Linked DNA regions of Homo sapiens: region 2 is linked to region 1. Evidence: promoter capture Hi-C in 16 types of primary human blood cells and fetal thymus (Javierre and others, 2016). All regions are on one chromosome and are shown on one strand. Each heading gives the region's core, a stretch centred on a gene start or on the middle of the fragment in contact. The rest is flanking DNA. Distances are from core to core; before and after follow the strand shown.

What was found. The method cuts DNA at HindIII sites, captures the fragments that hold promoters and counts their contacts. A CHiCAGO score of 5 or more calls a contact.
Region 2: the fragment with the promoter of RBBP6 here is called in contact with the fragment with the promoter of GDE1 in region 1 in 1 of 17 cell types (non-activated CD4 T cells); the score reaches 5.3 in non-activated CD4 T cells.

What each region holds. Positions count from the first base shown.
Region 1 is chr16:19,518,687-19,524,080 of GRCh38, forward strand. It overlaps GDE1 (glycerophosphodiester phosphodiesterase 1), which reads right to left and starts at 3,412. Exons shown (of 6, transcript NM_016641.4): 1 at 3,018-3,412. The coding sequence starts at 3,278. CCP110 (centriolar coiled-coil protein 110) reads left to right here and starts at 5,256. Exons shown (of 14, transcript NM_001323572.2): 1 at 5,256-5,394. RefSeq lists enhancers at 2,694-2,753, 2,879-3,613, 2,924-3,093 and a silencer at 3,204-3,373. The HindIII fragment of the contact is 7,297 bases long and covers 507-5,394 here.
Region 2 is chr16:24,535,255-24,540,865 of GRCh38, forward strand. It overlaps RBBP6 (RB binding protein 6, ubiquitin ligase), which reads left to right and starts at 4,312. Exons shown (of 18, transcript NM_006910.5): 1 at 4,312-5,538. The coding sequence starts at 5,373. RefSeq lists enhancers at 2,254-2,548, 3,975-4,969, 4,970-5,611 and silencers at 4,259-4,308, 4,579-4,758. The HindIII fragment of the contact is 3,955 bases long and covers 1,953-5,611 here.

The sequences.
Region 1 (5,394 bases), core at 2,162-4,661:
ACACAGAGCACTGTGCTAGTGAATAGTTAAGATTTCAATAAATGTTAGCCATTGTTATTTATTATGTCCTTTTAAACACATCTTTAAAGGTAATATAGTCAAATTTATCAATAACGTCCTTTATGGGTGGAGATTTTTCTGCTTTATTTAAATCTTTTCCTTTTCCCATGTGATACAGATGTACGACTATTTTGGAAAAACACATCACATTTTCCCTCTGCTCTCACAACAATCAACCCCGACGTCTGTGACCAAAAATGTGGGGGTTTTTCCCCACCAATAAGTAGTGGACACCAGCTGGGTATCCTCCAACTCAATTTTGACACTATCTACCTGGAGATAGTGTCAGATCATAGGTTGAGGGCTTGGTCCCCAAGACTGCACCCCACCCTCCTCCAGACACAAATAGCAAGCTGGGGCCTATGGAACTTCTGACCAATTGGCTTCAAGTCCTCTTAGGTTTATTTTAGTTTTTATTTTTTTAATTCCTCTTAGGTTTTTATGGAAGCTTCATGATGTCAGCATTCCTTCCCCCAGGGTATAGGGTGGGGTCCCTCTCTGAGGAGGGTCTTAAGACTCACAATTTGAAAGACAGGGAAAGATTCCAGTCCTGCCTTGGGGTAGGTGAAAGGAGGGCAGGAGAGATTCTGTTTCCCAAGGCCTGCTCCTAAGGCCTAGGATGCCTAACAAAATACTGTAGCAAGGGCTGAGAGTTATGAGCCAGGAACCATGGATGAAAACCTATATATGTGTGTGTATGTGCATATATATATATATATATATATATACATACACAATACTTAATAGATTACAATATAGTGTAAACATAACTTTTATATGCACTGGGAAACCAAAAAATTTGTGACTCCCTTTATTACTATATTTGCTTTATTGACTATTTACTCAGGTCTGGAACTGAACTTGCAATATCTCCTATATATACTAATATGTGAATTAGAACCAGGGATTCATCTTTTTATCTCAATTACTGGAATAACATAGAAGTACTGGTAAAGCTGGCCAGGCAGTGGCTCATGCCTGTGATCCCAGCACTTTGCCTGTAATCCCAGCACTCTGTAATCCACTGAGGCAGGTGGATCACTTGAGGTCAGGAGTTTGAGACCAGCCTTGCCAACATGGCAAAACACCATCTCTACTAAAAACAAAAAACAAAAATTAGCTGGGAGTGGAGGAGTACATCTGTAATCTTAGCTACTTGGGAGCCTGAGGCACAAGAATCGCTTCAACCTGGGAGGTGGAAGTTGCAGTGAGTTGAGATCGCCCCACTGCACTCAAACCTGGGTGACAGAGAGAGACCCTGTCTCAAAAATAAATAAATAAATAAAATTATTGGTAAAGTCGAATGTATACATACATATATACATTTCTGACAGTGCTAGAATTTCTGGTAGATTATAAATGAGATATAGAAGGAAAAACTTGATAAATGTGAGTTGAGTGTATTCCAAAAACAGATACACTACTATAAACAGTGGCAAAGGAATGAAATTACACCCACAGTACATTCTCCACATGGGCCAGAGTGCAGCTTTAAAAGTATAAATCTTGGCCGGGCACGGTGGCTCATGCCTGTAATCGCAGCTACTCGGGAGGTTGAGGCAGTAGAATCACTTGAACCTGGGATACAGAGGTTGCAGTGAGCTGGGGTTGCGCCGATGCACTGTAGCCTGGGAGACAGTGAGACTTCGTTTAAAAAAAAAGAAAAAAAAAAAGAAAAAAAAAGGAAATGAGGGAGGCCAGGCATGATGGCTCATGCCTGTAATCCTAGTACCTTGGGAGGCCGAGGCGGGTGGATCACTTTGAGGCCAGGAGTTTGAGACCAGTCTGGCCAACATAGCAGAACCCCATCTCTACTAAAAATACAAAAATTAGCTGGGCGTGGTGGCACACGCCTGTAATCCCAGCTACTCCGGAGGCTGAGGCACGAGAATCGCTTGAACACGGGAGGCAGGGGTTGCAGTGCGTGGAGATTGCACCACTGCCCTCCAGCCTGGGTAAAAGAGTGAGACTCTGTAAAGTAAAAAAAAAAAAAAGAAGAAGAAGGAAGGAAGAAGAGAGAGAAAAATAAAAAAGAAGAGAATCAGATATATTTACACAGATGCAAAAGTGCCTAATCCACTGAAAAGCCCTCTCTGTAAGCTGTCATTATTATGAAGCTAGGAGAATGCCAAGAGCTGGGAGGTATCAAAAGTTTCAGGAGTGCCTTGTGAAAAGGAGGGGGCAGAAACTGATGTGAGTCCAGCTGCCAGGGTTGTGCGAGTGCGAATGTGTGTGTCTGGGGAAAAGGTGATAAGGAAATGACTCAAGTGATTTACAAGACAAGCAAACGTATGTCTTGTGAAGGGTGATCTATTTAGACTAACCTCAATTACTGACCAAGAACCTATTTGACCTGACCCATTTTCTACTTCATTCACACACCAGTCTTTGTTCTCTTCCTTGAAGTCAGGCCACACACTGCCTCTTCTGTTACCTGAACACCCCTATATTATTCCCATCTCAGGACCTTCTGCACCTGCCTGGCTCCTTATAATTCCGGTTTCTGTTCAAATGTTGCTTCTTCGGAGACGATTTCTCTTGACTATTCCATCTAAATAAAATAGCGTAACTCTTTCCTTCGAGTTCCCCCGATTTCTTCATTGCACCTTTCACTCTCTTAAAGTTATCTCATTTATGTGTTTACTTGTTTAAGGCTTGCCTCCCCCATTCCGATGTACACTCTGTAAACCAGGGACACTTTTGACCTTGTTCCTGGCTGTATGTAACCTTAGCGTCAGGCGCACAGAAACTATATACATATCTGCTGTCTTCTGTAAATATAAAACCTCAAGTCCGGAGATCCCTAGACACTGGGAGCGATCAAGGGCCGGGAGTGTGCCTTGTGGACGAATGAGGAAGTGGGAAGGCCGTCCTGAGAAGATCGGGGAACCCTGGGAAGGAAAAGTAGAAGTCCGAGCTCTCGGGAGGACCGAGGGGCGCGAACGTGGGGGTCTCACCTGCCGAATGGCCGCCAGCGTGTTCTCGGGCGCGTCGTGGCTGCCGCCACGGTGGGCGATGGCAGAAATGCGGTCCCGGGGCTTGAGCACCTGCAGGGCCCTGCAAGAGGGCACCGGCTCAAAGCTGAAGACGCGCAGTAGAACGAAGAGGCTGCCGGTGAGGAGGCAGGCATTGACCGGGCTCCGCGTCACCAGCAGCAGCACTAGCAGCAGGAAGGAGAAAGGGCCCAGGAGGCCGCCCTGGTCCTCCCACAGCCACATGCCGGCGCCCGCACCGGCACGGACGGGAGTCCCGGACCCGCCGGGCTCCTGGGGCAGTAGAACGAGAAGCGAGGGGGAGGGTCCAAGGCACCGGCAGCAGCAGGAACCCTCTGAGGGGACCAGCGCCGCACAATGGCGGCAGCAGACACATCCAGAGAGGGAGTCGGCCGCCCAGCCAATCAGGGATCGGGATTCGCAGCGCCAGTGGGCGGAGCCGCTCCATGGCAACGGGGGAGGGCCCAGGCCCCAGGCCCCAGGCTCACGTTCCAAATCTAAGGTGGGTTAGGGTTTTCCGAGGTCTGAACTTCAACCTGGGCGTTCAGACTCCTAGGCGAGAAAAGGAGGGATAAGAACCATCCTAAAGCTGTAGGACTGGAAGGGATTTTAGTGACTCCTTTATCTGCCCTTGAGGAAACTGAATTCCAGGGAACCTGGAGAGGCAGGATGCTTAGACTATCAATTCAATTCAATTCAATTCAGTTCAGTTCAGTTCAATTCAAGATGTGCCAAATACCGGTCCAGGTGCTCCGGACACAGTTGAACAGGACCTACAGGGTTTTTGCTCTTATGGGATTCACATTCTTGTGGGAGGAAATAAAAGTTAGCAAGTACACCTAACGTTTACAGAGCACTTACCATGTCCCAGGTACTTGACGAGCAAACACTTTATATGCTTATCTCATTCTCAATACAGCCTAACAGTTACTATCAGGAGACTGATTTCAATCGACTTTATTTTCCAGATTCTGGGGGACTGGAAGAGCCTAGCAAAGAAGGCACAATCGGATTATAAAACTGGAAGGGGTTTTAAGGATTCCCTTATTTCATAGATGCGGAAACTGAGGATAGGTGAATTAAGCAGTTAATGGCAGGGTGGGGACTGACATAAAGGCCTCCCCAGTGATTTGTGACATTTTCACTCCTCCTCCCCCTAATCTTACTTCTGCTAAGGGCTTTTGTACCAGGCACTGTACAGGAGTTACCTCAACTGTGCCTCACAACCACCCTTGTGATAGGCACTTTTAAAACCCCCATTTTACATATGCAAAAACAGGCACTGGAAGGAGGGTAAGAGAGATAGACCATGAAGCCGAGTTAGGGAGTGAAAAGGGGCCCCTGGACATATTTTGGAGGGCTGGTAACATTTTTATGTAGAGAACTTTGCAAAAATATTCAGGGATTTTTCTGTTACCTTTTTTTCCTTTAGTGCATTTTCCCACTGATTTGCAAAAGGGGATAGATGTCTTAAGCCTTCCAGTTGGCATCTAGGATTCAGCCTTTTTTTTTTTTTCTTTCAGACAGTCTCACTCTATCGCCCAGGTTGGAATGCAGTGGTGCAATCATGGCTCACTGCAACGTCGACCTCCTGGGCTCAAGCGATCTTCCGACCTCAGCCTCCCGAGTAGCTGGGATCACAGGCTCGCGCCACCCCACCCGGCTAACGTTTAAAATTTTTGTAGAGATGCCGTCTCCCTTTGTTGCCCAGGCTGATCTCGAACTCCTGGGCTCAAGCGATCCTTCCGCCTCGGCTTCCAAAATGTTGGAATTATAGGCGTAAGCCATCACGCCCGGTGGGTTCAGCAAGTTTTTACCTACAAGAAAATATTTTGGTGAATGTTACATGTTTTCTAACGGCTGCATAGAAAGGGGTTATCTTTATACAGATAAGAAAAAAATGGCAACTTCAAGGAACACTTCAGGGGGCTTCAGACCCTGAGGGGTGTTCCTATTCTACTAAATAAGTAAATTTATTAATAAATTCTAGTCTCTAGCTTGCAAGGAAGACTACGTTTCCCGGCGTGCAGCGTGCTGGCCGTAAGCATTACGTCCTCCATCGCGGGCGCGCAATGCACCTCGGGGATGGTAGTGTTCTGGTGGCCCAACGGTTTTAACAGCCCGGGAATCAACCACCGGAAGTGCCGGCCCTGAGAGGTGGAGTCGGGGTGGCAGCGGCGGCGGTTGCCAGGAGCCCGCGTTGCAGCCTGAGATCCGTAATATGGCGGGGAGGAGGAGGAGAAGGCGGCGGCGGACCGAGCTGCGCTCTGTCAGTACCATTTGAGCCATTCGCTTCCTGACAAGGCCCGTGGCGAGGGGAGAGGAGCTGAAGGGGCCGTGG
Region 2 (5,611 bases), core at 3,062-5,561, 5.0 Mb after region 1:
TGTAATCCCAGTGACTCGAGAGGCTGAGGCAAGAGAATCGCTTGAACCCGGGAGGTGGAGGTTGCAGTGAGCCGAGATTGTCTCACTGTACTCCAGCCTGGACAACAGAGCGAGATATATATTTTGTCCCTTTTCTATTTATTTATTTATTTATTTATTTTTTGATACAGGGTCTCACTCTGTCACCCAGGCTGGAGTGCAGTGGCACAATCACAGCTCATTGTAGCCTCAACCTCCCAGGCTCAAGCAATCCTCCCACCTCAGTCTTCTGAGTAGCTGGTACCATAGGCATGCGACACCATGCCTGATTAAGTTATTAATTTTTTGTAGAGATGGGTTTTCGCCATATTGCCCAGGCTGGTCTCAAACTCCTGGGCTCAAGTGATACTCCCACCTTGGCCTCCCAAAGTGCTAAGATTACAGGTGTGAGCCACCACTCATGGACTCTTTATTAACAATATACTTCACAATGAAAAAGGGAATACAGTGATCTTCATTCTATATTATACCCTATATACCAAAAAAAATCAGATTGATTATGGAGTTTAAAATCATGAAGCTATATATAAACTGGAAGGAAATATAGCAAAAAAATATCTAAGGTGAGTGCTGAGTGGGCTACAAGCCATTTCTCAAAGCAAAAGCAAAAACCATAAAGGGAGAAAGGTCAATGGACTTTTGTTTGTTTGTTTGGAGACAGGTTCTCCCTTTGTTGCTTAGGCTGGAGTGCAGTGGCACGATCATAGCTCACTGCTGCCTCAAACTCCCCGGCTCAAGCTATCCTCCCACCTCAGCCTCCCAAAGTACTGGTATTACAGACATGAGCCACAGCACCCTGCCGGTCGATGGGCTGTATTACATAAACTGCAAAAAAATAAAAAATACCCCAACAACTGTAGGCTGAAATATTAAATAAAATAGAAAGGCAACATAAAAGCAATCAACTCTCTGGAGAAAATACAGTGTGATGTAAGGGATGTATCTACCTTCTGTGAATTGGACTGACAACACAGAGGCTTAGAACTATTTTTTTTTTTTTTTTTTTTTGAGGTACAGTCTCGTTCTGTCACCCAGGCTGGAGTGCAGTGGCAAGATCTCGGCTCACCACAACCTCCGCCTCCTGGGTTCAAGTGATTCTCCTGCCTCAGCCTCCCCAGTAGCTGGGATTACAGGTGTGCGCCAGTGCGCCAGGCTGATTTTTGTATTTTTAGTAGAGACAGAGTTTCACCACGTTGACGAGGCTGGTCTTGAAATCCTAACCTCAGGTGATCCACCCACCTGGGCCTCCCAAAGTAATGGGATTACAGGCGTGAGCCACCATGCCTGGCCTTGTTAGTGCATTTTTAAGATTACATTCAATATACAAGCATAGAACAGCTTCCGTGGGACCAGGCACAAGCTCAGTCCTGTAACCCCAGCACTTTGGGAGGCCAAGGCGGGAGGACTGCTTGAGGCCGTGAGTTTGAGACCAGGGTGGGTAGCATAGTGAGGCTCTGACACTACTGAAAAAACTAAAAATTAGCTGAGCATGTTGGCACAAGCCTATAGTCCCAGCTACTCAGGAGCCTGAAGCAGGAGGATTACTTGATCCCAGGAGTTCAAAGTTACAGTGAACTGTGATTGCACCACTGCACTCCAGCCTGGGTGACAGAGCAAGACCCGGACTCCAAAATAATACTACTAATAATTAAACAAACAAAAAGAGAACAGCCTCCATGAAATAGATCTCATTCCGACTTCCTGAGCTTGAGTAGTTCACTACAGACAGCAGGCAGGCAGAGCTCCTTGGATCTCCCAATTCCGCTTGCTGGAACTGAATTTTGACATAAGAAAATAAGTTAAGGGGTTTACTAACTGTCTATGGTCAATGGTATGAGGCTATACTGGGTTTGAGAATGACAAAGGTTTGAAATCCTGGGACATGGGAGCTCCAGAATTGTTACATTATGAGAAGCTTAGACAGGAATGCTTCATTCACTGTAGGATAGTACAAAAGGCTTTTTCAGGGCTTACAAAAATATTGGTAGGGAGAGAAGCGTCAGGGAGACCAGCTCCATATTACCCAAAGAAAACGGCAAAATTTACAATTCAGCTCACTGAAGAAAAAAGAAAATAAAAAGTTTTTTTTTTAAAAAAAGAAAACTGCAAAATGAAGATTAGTAAAGGAATTCAGTGAAATGGACCAAATGTAGCATTGTGTCAATTAGTCAGGCAACTCAAGTCATAGGCTTATTGCAGGTGGTGAATGCATTTTGACCTGTTTGATGTGATATGAAGTGAGGCCTCTGTAAGTGAGAATATCAAGGTTGAACAAAGTTTTTGGCAGATGAGAACGGTTGGACCAATAGACAACATTCTTTCCAAGGACATCCCCCCCTGCAGATTAGGTTATGATCCACTCTGTCATATCCTGAGGGTGTGGCCCACTTTGAGATCCCATGATGCACCACGCTGATTAAATTAGGCATTCAGTATATAAAGGGGTCGGCCACAGACGGGCAAAAGGAACAGATTCACCGCTTCGGAGTGAATTCCATGACGGCTTGCAATTTTCTCGTCGAGTTTTTCTTTCACTAGAGATAGCCCTCGCCCTTTCATTCACACAGAGGCTTTTAAGAAAAAAGCAACCAACCTGAAGAGGACCTGGCAGCAATAAGTTTTTGGTGAAATAACAAAGAGGTAAAAGTGGAAGAAACTTGTTATATATGAAAAGTACTGATGTGTGTGGTTGAGTTAAATTGTAATGGTATCTCTAGAGCTGCCCTTGACTACGGCCAAAATTTTATTGCCACGACATCTCTATGGATCACGTAAAAATGTATCCAGTTATTCAGCACGTATTTATTGAGCACCTACTATGTTCTAAGAGCTGAGGATACAGCAAAAACAAATATAAAGATAAGATTCCTATTGTCAGCCGAAGGTAGGGGTTGGGGGAGATAGATAATTAAAAAGTAAATGTGTAACTGTCAACTATCTGCAAGTGCTAGGAAGAAAAGACTAAAGGGATAGAGAAAGATCGCCATCTTATTTTAAAAAGATGGCCTTAGGAAGGCTTTTCTGGCAGGATGGTGATTAATTTTAAATCAAGTTCAGTAAGAATTTGGAGTGTGCTTGCAGGAAGTCCCTGGGAAACTCTGCTACTTCTCGGCTATAGGATCTTATTCTCAGTTGCCTAAATTCACTGAGCCTAGCCTGTAAAATTCAGAGAGGATGAGGAACATGGATTGTAAACGATAATAACTATCGTTTATGAATGTAATTTTATTATATTATGATTTTTTCTGAATGTAATAACGTCCCCATGCCCAAAGGAAAAAAAAAATTCCAATCTACTGAGGGGGTTCTTGTCACTGTTCCTGGCATTTGCGCTTAGGAATGGAATCGGGACCCTGCCACTGAGCAGGCATCCCCTTCTGCAAATTCAGAAAGTACATGATTGCTAGCTTCAGTTCCATCATCTATAAATCGGAAATAATGTCATGTTGACCACGTAGGGTTTTTGTTGTTAAATTGACATTTATTGAGCTACAGCTATTAATATTTCGGTGCATTGAGCCACGTCAATGCACCGGCATGGTCTTAGACTATGGATTTATGTGCATTTATTTAATCCAAGTAAACCAAGTACTATTTTTAATGGCATTTTACAGCCAAGGAGACCCAGGCACAGAGGGGTTAAATCTAGAGCCCCCACAGCCAGGGATCCAACCCAGACAACGTGGCTGCTGAGCCTGGCAATGTTGTTATGCGATCAGCCCTGTGCCTAGCACATAGTAAGAGCTCAATAAATCTGTATGGTGCTGGTGGCTGTTATCAGTTCTTGGCAGCGGCTGCTCCACGATTTCCACTTGTCAAGAGTATAGGGTAGCCAGTTTATTGGAAGCAGCAGCTAGGGAGCGCTTGCATAGCAACCATAGTTTTCTGCGTAGCAACCATAATGCTCACTTAAATTGGGAGGCTTAGAGGAGCTGACGGGGCCTGTGGGGAAGGGGGAGTTAGCCGGCCACCCCTAGGCAAGCCACTTTGCAGTGGAAACTGCACGCAGCCCCTGCAAGGCGAGCTCTCCCCACCGAGCCTCCCTGTGAGCCGGTCCTCCTGACGCGCAACCCCCCTCCCTTTTGAAGCAGATGGTTCTTCCCGTTGTCCCTGCTCTTTCAGTTTCCGCGCTTTGGAGTCACAAAGCGCGGGGTCACGTGGGCGGGCCGTGCGCTTTGTGACGTCAGCCGCCCCGCCTCTCGGCCCGCCTATCCGCGCACGCCAGCCCCGCCTCGCGCGCGCCGCCCGTGCAATCCCTGCTTAAGAGACCCCGCAGTGGGGCGCTCGTCCGAAGCCAGGCCGCGTCCGCCATAGTACCTGGCTTGGAGGTGTCGCCGCCGCTCGGTGAGAGCCCCCGAGCGGCAGGGGGCCAACACAAAAAGGGAGCCGGAGAAGCCCTAGCCGCTGCCCAGCAGCTTGCGGGCGTGTTCTCGCGGTTCCGGGCCTCAAGGCGACGGAAACGAAAGGCGAGCGAAGCGCGGAGGATCCGGCGAGAAGAAGCGTCAGGGAGCCTCGGCGGTGTCCCCGGGGTCCGCCGAAGCCACCCGGCCGCCGGCTGGGGCCCGGGGTGGTGAGGAAGTGCTCCGAGGCCTCGCCGAGGCCTAGCGCCGGCTTTGTGTCCGAGGCGGCGGCGGCGGCGGGGGGAGGCGGAGCCGGGGGCGGCCTGCGGGAAGGCCTCTCCTCCGCCGACCGCGCGTTTTCGGCCTAGGCCGTGGGGCCGCTCGTGGCCTCCGGGGAGCAGGCGCCAGGGGTTTGTGTGCGGTGGGGGCCTGGGCCTGGGCCTGGGGAAGCTGACGCCGGTCGTCCGGAAGCCAGGAGGAGGCGTGAGGCCGCTCGTGGACTCCGGGCCTAGGCCCTCTCCCCTCAACCTTCTCCCGGGGCCTGGGTCACCCCAATCCACGGAGAGAGAGACCCGCCGGGAGGTGCGGCCGCGCTATGGACCCCTGACCCCGTGGGGTCGCTCGGACTCTTAACGTGTGGACTGACCGCTACTGACTGCACCGCCAATCCCCCCGTCTCTGCCGGCCCCTTAGCATGAGCGAGGGGGACCCAGCCGGGTGACATTGTGCCCGTTGGCGGATTCTCGATTTCCCCTCTTCCCCGTCCTCGTCCTCCTCCTCCCCCATGAAGTGATTCTGAGTATCGGGGGGTCTCTGGATTATTGTTCTGACGAACCCCTGCTTGTGGTTGGGGGGTATTTAATCTGAGGCCTTAGGGTCCTTCGGTGTCTTTGAGTGTTTTGTGTGTACATATTTTGCTCTTAAAGTTTATAAATATACGTATATTGAGAGTGTCCACGTCTCCTCGCTGAACCTTAGGAATCCCTTGGCACCATGTCCTGTGTGCATTATAAATTTTCCTCTAAACTCAACTATGATACCGTCACCTTTGATGGGCTCCACATCTCCCTCTGCGACTTAAAGAAGCAGATTATGGGGAGAGAGAAGCTGAAAGCTGCCGACTGCGACCTGCAGATCACCAATGCGCAGACGAAAGAAGGTAAGGGCCGCTTGGTCTTAAGATATTTGGTGGCTGGAGAGAGATACTAGCTAGAAGGTGCCTGGCAGGAAGC